Regions from separate parts of the Homo sapiens genome. Here region 1 is linked to region 2. The links are contacts of gene promoters, found by promoter capture Hi-C in blood cells and fetal thymus (Javierre and others, 2016). All regions are on one chromosome and are shown on one strand. The core of a region is centred on a gene start or on the middle of the fragment in contact, and the rest is flanking DNA. Distances in the headings are between cores, read along the strand shown. Region 1 holds the start of LOC124902380 (a long non-coding RNA gene). Region 2 holds the start of FAM107B (family with sequence similarity 107 member B).

Region 1 (5,235 bases), core at 2,238-4,737, 290 kb before region 2:
AGCTTTCTTCATCATCAACATCCTGCACCAAAATGGTACATTTGTTATCCTCAATGAACCTACGTTAATACATCATTATCATCCAAAGTCCATAGGTTACATTAGGGATCACTCTTGATGTTGTACATTCTATGACTTTTGACAAATATATCATGACATGTATCCACCCTTATAGCATCTTACAAAACAGTTTCGCTGCCCCCAAATCGTCTATGTTCCACCTATTTATCCTTCTTTTTCCCCAACCCCTGGCAACCGCTGATCTATTTACTATCTTCTATAGTTTTGCCTTTTCCTGAATGTCGTATAGATGGAATCACACAGTATGTATGTAGCCTTTTCAGATTGGCTTTTTCACTTAGTAATATACATTTGAGGTTCCACCATGCCTTTGTTGGCTTGATAGCACCTTTTCTTTTCATCACTGAATAATATCCCATCGTCTGGACATACCACGGTTTATCCATTCATCTATGGAAGAACATCCTGGTTGCTTGCAAATTTTGTCAATTATGAAGAAAGTTGCCAGAAACATCTGTGCATTGGTTTTTGTGTGGACATAAGCTTTCAATTCCTTTGGGTAAATACCAAGGAGCGTGAACGCTGGATCACATAGTAAGAGTATGTTTCATTTTGTAAGAAACTGCCAAACTGTCTTCCTAAGTGGTTGTGCCATTTTTGCATTCCTCCAGAATGAGTGAGAATTGCTGTTGTTCCAAATCTTCGCCAGCATTTGGTGTTAGTGTTTTGGATTCTGACCATTTCAATAGGTGCGTAATAGTATTTCATTTTTTGAATTTACAATTCCCTAATGACATATACTGCTTATTCTTTCAAATATTTTGAAAATGTGTTAAACCTCACAAACTATACTATCAACTACATTTAAATGTGTTAATGGTTTTATTGCTCACTATATAATGTAGCATTTATTTCCCTTTTAAAAGTTTATTCGTTTATTCCACAAACATCGACTGAGTGCCTGGTGCGTGCCCTGCGTGAAAATCTATAGTTACAAACTGACAAAACCTCTGTCTTCATGGAGCTTCCCTCCCCATAAAAGCTTTAAATTATTTTGTATTTGGCTAAAGTATACCCTTACATAATTTGTTTGTGGAATTTCTTTGTTTGGTTGGTTGTTGCTGTTGTTTTTCCCGAAATATTCTATTCTAGAAGGAAACATAGCTCATTCCCTGGACCCCTCTAGGTCTTCGCTCAAACATCACCTTCTCAGTGAGCACTACCACGGCCACATCACTTAAAATTGCATCCTCCTCCCCACAGTGCTCCCCGTTTCACCTCCTCCATAATATTTCTAACACACAACACATCATATTTCATGTAAGACATGAATGTTGACGCACACTATTACGTTTTATGTCAACAAAAGAGAAGGGCGGCTAACTGAGTCATGGCCTTGACATTAGGTCACACTGATGCGGGGCAGCTGAGCCCCATCATGGAGCTTAGCCCACAAGGCTTCTTGGCTTTGCCCAGGAAAGAATTCAAGGGCAAGCCAAAAGTAAAAGAAAACAGTCTTAGCGTTACAACTCTGTGACTGCCCCCGCAGAGCAGGGCTACCCAGTAGGCAGAGAGTAGCAGCTCAGGGCAGGGCAATTTTGCAGCCATATTTATACACACGTTTAGCTGCATGCAGATTAAGGAGTGGTTTATGCACGGGAGGGGTAGTAACTTTTGGATGGTTGGGTGCCGTGGAAAGAGGCAGTACCTCCCGAGTGTTGCCATGGCAACAGTAAATTGACCTGGTACACTGGTGGGTGGGTCTGATTGAATGCTGCTTTCATCCTGGCCCTGTTTCAGCTAGTCCTCAATCTGATCTGGTGTCCGAGCTCCACCTCTGGAGGTGAGTCCTGCCTCTTACCTCAACACCTCACCAATTTTTTTTTTTTTTACTAATTTGGAGATTTTAAGAGACTTCTCATGCCTTGAAAACCTTTGCATGTGATAGGCAGTCCTTTTGCAAACATAGCTCAGTAGTAAGACATGACAAAGCTTCACCCTCTTGCGGGTATCTTCTTTTCTTACAGTGTCAAAACATGACTGGTTGTTTATAAGGAAACACGGAATTGTGGTCACTCTCCCAAAGATGAATACTTGCTTTTGGGTTTCCATGCCTCTCCATGTACACAATAACCTTTTGTTTCAATTTCAGATCATCGTGGAATCTTTTTGAAGACATTTGAATGGCAAAATAAATCCTTTACGCATAGTACTGGCAAAGAGCCCAGCTGAGCTGAAGCAGGAACACTATGAGCAGCTTTTCTCAGGTTTGCAACTTCGGGGGAAATGGCAATTCCTTAAAGGCAGCTGCCCGGCCAGCAGCAATGATAAGATGCCAGCGATTATAGAATGCACCCCAGTTTCAAAGTTGCTAATGTGAAACATCATGCTTCTAAGAATCAACAAAATATAGTAATGTACTCACTTTGTCTATTATCTAGCTGCCTCTACTAGTTAGCAAGCTCTGTGATGATGACAGTAAACTTGGTGTATCTACTGATACCTCACCAGTGCCTATAACAGGACTTGGCCCATAGTACCGAGAACTGGAGAATGACCACAGTTCCATGTTTTCTTATAAACAACTAGTCAAGTTTTGACACTGTAAGAAAACAAGAGACCTCCAATCAAGTGAATGGACCCGCTTCTGGCTAAGGGAATCTCAGAAAAAGCTTAAAAACGAAGTTCCTGGCCATGACGGAAGAGGAGGTCAGACACATCTTGTCATACCCCTTCCCTTTTGTGGTTTAGCTACAACAACTGACCAGCATTCATGTTAAAATAGAAATCATCAGACTGATGGGATACGGATGCTTTGTGGCCATAAGATACCAAATTATGAACAGGACCTAAAGCCTTGCCAGGCAAGGGTTAAGCCACACACCCTACACTTTAAAAGAATAAACTATGTTCTAACGGCCACAAGGTTTCATTTTTCTCTAGCAGCTAAACAAACACTGGCCTTGACATAAGCAATATGAAAACAATTGCAGCCAGGTGCAGTGGCTCACACCTGTAATCCCAGCACTTTGGGAGGCAGAGGCGGGCAGATCGCCTGAGGTCAGGAGCTCGAGACCAGCCTGGTCAACATGGCAAAACCCCGTCTCTACTAAAAATACAAAAATTAGCCAGGCGTGGTGGCGGGCACCTGTAATCCCAGCTACCCAGGAGGCTGAGGCAGGAGAGTCGCTGGAACCCAGGAGGCAGAGGCTGCAGTGAGCCAAGATCGCGCCACTGCACTCCTGCCTGGGCAACAAGAGCGAGACTCCATCTAAAAAAAAAAAAATTTGCAGCTCGTGTACTTCCAGATGCTGATTAACTGACCCCCATCCCACCAGCCATCACTACAGCTTTGATTGGAGAAGAGACTGATTTCAGTAACTTTGTCCTGATCAGAGGCTGCTGACCGTAGACTGGTTGTGGCCAGTTTACAGAGGCTGTGCACTCAGTGCCAGAGGGAAGCTAGGGAGGAGGGAAGGAAGGAAGGAAAGAAGGGAGGGAGGGAGGGAGGGAGGGAAAGGTTTACTACCTATACACAGTAAGAAGTCCACTCACTGATGCAATTGGATCTTGGTGTCCCTGCTTCACCTTTTGATGTATAGGGTCTAACTTGAATACACTTAAATGTTAAGTCTCTGCCCCAAAGTGAACATGGAATACATGTAACGTGCATGTTTGCTTATCATGCATGTGCCCTCACTTTGTGATAATGCTTAGCTTTTCCTGTAATCTGTAGACCAACCCATTCAACATAAATTCCTGTTTCATTTCCTCCAAGTGCTTGCCTTGGGGTTGATAATATTATTTTTCAGTCTTATACGCTATTTCCACTGAATAGCATATTAGGCTGTGCTTCCCAGCCAGTCAAGATGACCACCTTGCAGGCTATAACCCTTTATAATAAATAAGATCTCCTTTCCAAATGTATAGATTGGGTGATTTTTAAGTTGACAGTATGCAATCGACTGTTTTTTAAGTGAATGCACAGATGAGACAGGATTTCACACCTGCCCTGTATAGCTGGAAAGCCAGGATCTCCCACTGCCTCTGTGGCACATGGCATTTCTTTCCAGATTGGAAGGCAATTGCATGTCATAGTCACTCTGCTTTGCTCCCTGACCCTTTGGCTGGCTGAAAGCCTCTTTTCCAGTAAAAGAGGGAACAGTGGCCTGACACATGTCATCCAAAAGATGATTGATGATTTTCTAGGCTGCTATGGGGTTTTTAGCAAATTCTTGTAGAATCAAGTGTGAAGGCCACAGAAGCTTCAGCCACAACACTCTTGTCTTTATAAATCAAAACAAGAGCAGAAGAAAGAATTAAAGGACAAAGGAAAAGGAAAGAGAAGGAGGGAAGGAAGGAAGGAAGGAAGGAGGGAAGGAGGGAGGGAGGGAGGGAAGGAAGGAAAAGGAAAGGAAAGGAAGAGGAAGGGAAGGAGGGAGGGAAGGAAAGGAAGGAAAGAAAGGAAAAGAAAGGAAAGGAAAGAAGAGTTACTACCTATACACAGTAAGAAGTACACTTGCTGATGCAATTGGATCTTGGTTTGATGGGTTCATGAGGAGGCAAAGATGTTAATTCCCGGGGCACTTGGATGTTTCAGAAGCCAAGGAAGTTCTCAAGCAACCCAGGAAGAGCTGCAACCCTCATCAGGAAAAATTATCCAGGCTCTCAACCTCCTGGGCTTCCGAGGCATATATCTGTGCCTGCCTGTCCCCAAATGGTATGCCTGGAGTGTGGGAAGACGGGCTTCAGAATTATTCAATTTAATAAACAGCTAAACAAAAAGGAAAAGGGAAAAAATATTTCTCACTGGCTGCACATTGCTTTAAATCCTTGTTCTTGTGGTTTATATTTTATGGAAATCTGTGTTTGGGAAAACACAAGGAGTGTCCTCCATGAACAGATACTGTTTTTCTTCTATACTCATGACACAAAAATTTGTTTCTACAGCCATCATGGGAGGTGCTCCTAGTACCTCCTTCAGATCTAATGCAGGTGTTTGAAGCCTAATGATGCAGGACATCTGTTTTAATTACCTTTACAGCTGTCCAAACTCACCTGTTATACAGTATGCACATTTCACTTTAATAATGATATGTATAATGTGCTATTTCACGTTAATTAGCACAACAGCTTTTCATTTCAATGCCAACAGAACCTTGAGCCTTTAAGGTCTTAATCTCAACTAACTCAATTCTAAGGTTATTTATGACT
Region 2 (5,908 bases), core at 1,197-3,696:
CAAGTGCTCTGCACAGCTTAGCTCTCGGTGTTTGAACTAGAATAGATGCCCATTTACCCACATCAGGCCCTCTTCCTGCACCTCCTGGCACTTGATTTCAGTGTTTGCATTGCATCACTGCTTCCCTCCCTGCCTGGTTTGGACCGCACAGTCAACTGCCGCGTGTCCTGCCTCATGGAGCCCCTCCCACTTTATCTCCCTGTTGTTCCTGTCTGGATTGTTACAATGTCCTCTCTGCTCCGGGCTTCCCAACTGTAATCCATCCTACGCTGTGGACCACCCATGGCTTTGCTCCTGCCAAGTGGACACTAAACATGGATGTGGCCCCATTTTGTGTTATTGGTTCTATTTGAATTCACATGCTTGCCTTGAGTCCCTGAGTCCCATGTGCAACTAAAACAGAAAGATAAAATCAAAGTAACCCTTTGTTCTTGCGGCTGTCTTCAGTAATATAAGGTGGGTCTGCATTGCTCAACAGAAAGTCTTCCGGTTCATTAAAACTGTACATCATTGGTACCATAAATATCCAACAAATATCAACTTGGCCATGAATTCTAATCAGCTACCTATAATACTACCAAAAATATCTTAATCTGGATGTGGCTATACACTGAAAATTTTGGTTTTTGCTGGTTGGTTATGGGCTTTGGTTTAGTGGTGCTAGAAAAAAACATAGCAGTTTTTGCTGTGACAGAGGATATGGTAAAACTCTCTGTCCAATTTCAGAATGCAGACGACAGACCCAAGCTTCAGTCATTTCATATAAACCTGCAGGGTGTCAAATGAAACTATTTTTTAAATGATGTTTTAACCCTATCTTTGCTGGTTGGCTGTGTTCTTGCTAAGGAGGCTTCTTAGATTCTGTGAAGCAAGCCAGACCAAAAAATAATTTGTTAAACGGATGTGGAAAAATGATTTAAAAAATCAGAATACTTTAGTGATGGATCCCCAAAGACTTCTCAGTTTTTTAAGTCTGGTCCTAAGCTACTTGGCTAGGAAATGACCAAAAATGGTCAAGAGATATCTTTGGAGTGTACCTTTTAGAAAACCTTTCCTCTACACTGCATCTGCAAACTGGGATTACCGGGAACTTTGAAATAATTGTACAGCTCCATCTAATCAGAATACTCAACAATTAAAATTCACTGATGCCAAAAATGGAAAGAAAATAAGTAAATAACTCTTAAGAGCAGTGGCACCATTTTTTTTAAATAACTTCCTCCTCCTGCCTTCAACTCTCAGAAGATTATCACAAAAACATCCATATTATGAATAGTTTTATAGGTCAGTTCCCTTCCGTACCACTAGGCATACACTGATGATCATTTCCAAATTTTTCCAGACTGCTTTGATATCATGTGATTCATTTTAAGTAGAGGCAGTTTTGTGAATTCCCTAGCCAAACTTTTTAGATTGTGGATTTTCATATAAATAAATTGACAGACCGGTGGGGGTGGAGGGGGAAATAGAAAAAGGAAAAAAATGTTTTTGTAAACTATCTTACTCCTAATCTGTTATTGAGTGAGCCATTTTTGGCTCTAAGGCACCCTAGCCCGTTAATTCAAGGTTACCTTCGGTCATTGCCATGGCTCCAGTGCTTATTATCATTGCCTCATCCACATCTTTTGAGAACACTCTGAGAATCTACACGGCTTTAACACACTTCTTCGCACTAGTGAGAACGCCCGCAATGCCTTATTCAGTAAGGTTAAATGAGTTTGTTTGCTGAAACATTCGCCACATGATCCCAACGCTCCTCCAGCTCCATCCCGTCTATAATCGCAGAGCGAACACTCACTCACCTTGGGCGTGTCAATAATTGATGGTCTGGGGATGGAAGCGTGAAACACCACTGCTTCACAGTCCGCCCCATCATCCAGGGACCCGGGCACATCTTCAGGCGTCTCCGCGGGCTGGGCCGCAGTGCGGTGACTTGAATTCCGATTCGCACTGCCATTTCTCTCTGCATGGGTGCTCGAATCTTGCCTTTTCTCTGGAGCTCCTTCTGCGCTTGGGTGTCTTGGCTGTCTGCCTGCTTTGGCCACAGGCTGCACACGGACGGTGGAATGAGTATCAGCCACGCCGGACTGATTGAAGGAAGCACTCTCCCTCGTATTCCCAAAACAGGCGAGCAGAGCTGAGCACGGAAATGGATGCATGCTTCTAGAGGGAGACTTCAGTCTTTTGGTGAGTCTTGCTTTCCACGTGGACATGACTTGCAGTGAATCATTGCAAAGTTCAAACGGGGCAAGGAAATTTTCCAGGGGTCCACATCACCTCCACTTTGCTTATAGGAACTCTTTCCAATTGCCCGAAGAGAAGAACTTGCTAGTGGTTGCCCCTAAATAGAAGTTGGGATGGCAAGGCCACCTTCCCTGAGAGTCACTTAGCCGCTGGGGCCCCTTTGAAAGTGTCCATCCTGGGCAATTTCGCGCTCTTCCTTCTGTGATGCTGTCAGTGGCTAAAGAAAGCTGTTGGGGAGGCATGTGAGTGGCTCCGGTTACAGTTCCTAGGCAGGGCAGACGCTTCAGGGTAGGGTAGTGCCAAGTCAATAGACAATTGCTTCAGGTTACCTAGGAGGCATAAAGATAATGTAGCCTGATAGCATCTGCCATAATAGCGTCAGCCTGCGTATCAATAACATCATAACAGCAGCAAAACCTTCTTTGGTTACCCCCCTTCAAATATTTATTCCCCCAAACAAAACAAAAACGACCCAGTTGTCCATCACAAATGAAGACCCCTAGAAGGGCCACGACCCTAGCAGCTGTTTCATTATTAAAATAGGAGGTAGACTCAATCTTTCGCCTGGAGAGATGCGGTGTGATGTGTTTTCTGAATCTTTCTGGACTTTTCGGGATCTTTCCGGAATCTTCCCGGAATCTTCCCCCCACCCTCAAAACAAGTTTCCTGGTTTCAGGATCCACATTGCCTTTTCTGATAACTATAAATAGGTCTTTGGTAATTTGATTTTTTTTTTTTTACTAGCTAGGCTAAGTTCTTGATTAGTTTTCAACAATACCAAAAAGAAAAAAGAGAGCCCTACATTAACAATTATCCTTATGTATTATGTTATTATGTGTGGAGGTATTATGTACATGTGAAGTATTCTACCTATATGGTATATATCACCTACTTTCAGAAAGTAACTCCTTTTTGAACATAGATCTTCTGTTTCTCAACACATTAATATGTGAATGGTGAAAAATAATAAATTATAAACATATTCTAAGACAATTCAGAATCAAGATTTTTCCTTAGCCAACTGTCTGCTAGGAATGTTATAGAAATGTAATACTGTAATGCTTTTACCGTTAATAGTGATTTTAGGGTCAAGATTTCTGGGCATGTTACCCACTCTTAATTAATTTGTTTGCTCTCTCTTTTAATTTAATGTCAAGATGTGCTCTTTGGCCCAGACAGGTGGTAGTTATTATATTATGGCACTGATTCCCGTTTTACAGAGGCAGAAACCAATTCTTTGAAATTTCATGTGACTAAGGCAAGTTTATGCCACTAAGAAGGGCTTGTTGGGTGCCCGAGATCCCTGTTCTCCTATCTGTCCTCTGAGTCTCATTCTATCTAACAATCATTTTATAGATGTAATGGCCATACGGGAAATATTGTTCTAAATGGACAGTCATATTCATAATACAAAAAGGCAGATATGGCTTTAGAATGAGTGGATATGGCATCAAATGCACATTTTATTTTAGTCTCTACTGAAAGTTAGAATATAGAAAGCTTCCATTTATTTAGAGGTTACCGTGTGGCAGGCCCCGTGCTATCCAAGCTGTTTCTGGCTTCCCAGGGTTGTGAGCTCATTCTTTTTTCATTGTGTCCCAAGTGCAAGCTGTCCAAATTCCCCACCCATAAGAAATCAGGGGGTTCAGGTTTCTACCAGGGTCCCCCCTCCCAGATATTCCTGGAGACCCCTCGGAACTGCACTTTGTCTCCCATTTGACTTGGTTGCTACAGTCCACTCGGGTCGGGTCGTGCCATGCTGTGCCCCTCCAAGCACACGTATAGTAAATCGGGGCTGTGATGCTGCATAAGACATTTTTGAAGGCTTGGAGGTAACAGGAAGGGATTTAAGAAAAGAAAAATGCACTCTTACACCTGGTTTCATTCACTCATTCATATATTCATTCAATTATGTGTCAAGCCCCTTTTGGAACAGAGAGTCAGCAGTTCACAGTGCAGCTTGCGAGCGGCCACATTCAGGAGACCGCTGAGGAAGAAAGCTCAGAGCCACTTTCTAGGTCTGCGGAGGCCCTGGGCTTGCATCCGGGCTCTGAGGACCACCTCTCCTCGCTCAGTGGGTGTGCTCAGAGGCACGCATGAACTCATCGGAGTTCCAGCACTGGCCCGCTAAGAACAGTAGACTTTCTGATTAGTGTGTTGCTAAGTCTGACCTAGAATAACACTCAGTAACAGGCCATGGTTATTGAGTGTTTGGTATCAGACATGAATCTCAGCAAATTAACTCATTTAATCCTCACAACCCTAGAAGAAAGGTGATATTATTATTCCCATTTTTACTCATTAGAAAACCAAGACACAGAAACTTAAGTAACTTGCCCAAGGTCACAGCACTGCTTAAGGAAATGAGAAAAGGTGATGAGTCCAGCAACCTGGCCCCAGAGCTCATACTTTTCTCAGTATGCAATCCTGCTTTCCAAAAACACACATGCACGTGCACACACACAGATACATACTCCAGAGAGGACATTTCCAATGACCTTGATCCAACACTCTACCTCTAAGAAGTTATTTTGTAATGACGATCTTTAAAAAGTCAGGAAACAACAGATGCTGGAGAGGATGTGGAGAAATAGGAACACTTTTACACTGTTGGTGGGAGTGTAAATTAGTTCAACCATTGTGAAAGACAGTGTAGAGATTCCTCAAGGATCTAGAACTAGAAATACCATTTGACCCAGCCATCCCATTACTGGGTATATACCCAAAGGATTATAAATCATGCTACTATAAAGGCACATGCACACGTATGTTTATTGTGGCACTATTCACAATAGCAAAGACTTGGAACCAACCCATATGTCCACCAACAATAGACTGGATAAAGAAAATGTGGCACATATATACCATGGAATACTATGCAGCCATAAAAAAGGATGAGTTCATGTCCTTTACATGGACATGGGTAAAGCTGGAAACCATCATTCTCAGCAAAATATCACAAGGACAGAAAACCAAACACCGTATGCTCTCACTCATAAGTGGGAGTTGAACAATGAGAACACATGGACACAGGGAGGGGAACATCACATAGCAGGGCCTGTCAGGGGGTGGGGGCTGAGGGAGGGATAGCATCAGGAGAAATACCTAACGTAAATGACGAGCTGATGGGTGCAGCAAACCAACACGGCACATGTATACCTATGTAACAAACCTGCACGTTGTGCACATGTACCCTAGAACTTAAGGTATAATAATTTTTTTAAAAAAGAATTTATTCTGTAGATATACTTGTGCATAAATGTATGTCCCAGAATGTTCGCAGCACCAGAGTTTGTAATCACAAAATTAATTGTTAATCAATAGAAGACAAGTTCATATATAAGAAAACATCTGGCTGGGCGTGATGGCTCATGCCTGTAATCCCAACACTTTGGGAGGCCTAGGTGGGAGGGCCCTTTGAGGCCAGGAGAGTTCAAGGCCCGTCTGGGCAACATAGTGAGCCACCGTGTCTACAAAAAAAAAGTTTTAAAAATCAGTTGGGCATGGTGGTGAGTGTCTTAAGTCCCAGCTACTTGAGAGGCTGAAGTGGGAGGATCGCTTGAGCCCAGGAGGTGGAGGTTGCAGTGAACCGAGATTGCCCCACTGCACTCCAGAGCCTGGGTGGCAGCCCCTCGCAAGCTGCACTGTGAACAGCTGATTCTCT

What was found. The method cuts DNA at HindIII sites, captures the fragments that hold promoters and counts their contacts. A CHiCAGO score of 5 or more calls a contact.
Region 1: a fragment that was not itself captured here is called in contact with the fragment with the promoter of FAM107B in region 2 in 1 of 17 cell types (neutrophils); the score reaches 5.5 in neutrophils.

What each region holds. Positions count from the first base shown.
Region 1 is chr10:14,485,533-14,490,767 of GRCh38, forward strand. LOC124902380 (a long non-coding RNA gene) reads left to right here and starts at 1,738. Exons shown (of 2, transcript XR_007062062.1): 1 at 1,738-1,864; 2 at 2,174-2,943. The HindIII fragment of the contact is 1,593 bases long and covers 2,692-4,284 here.
Region 2 is chr10:14,772,451-14,778,358 of GRCh38, forward strand. It overlaps FAM107B (family with sequence similarity 107 member B), which reads right to left and starts at 2,447. Exons shown (of 5, transcript NM_031453.4): 1 at 1,803-2,447. The coding sequence starts at 2,213. The HindIII fragment of the contact is 2,997 bases long and covers 746-3,742 here.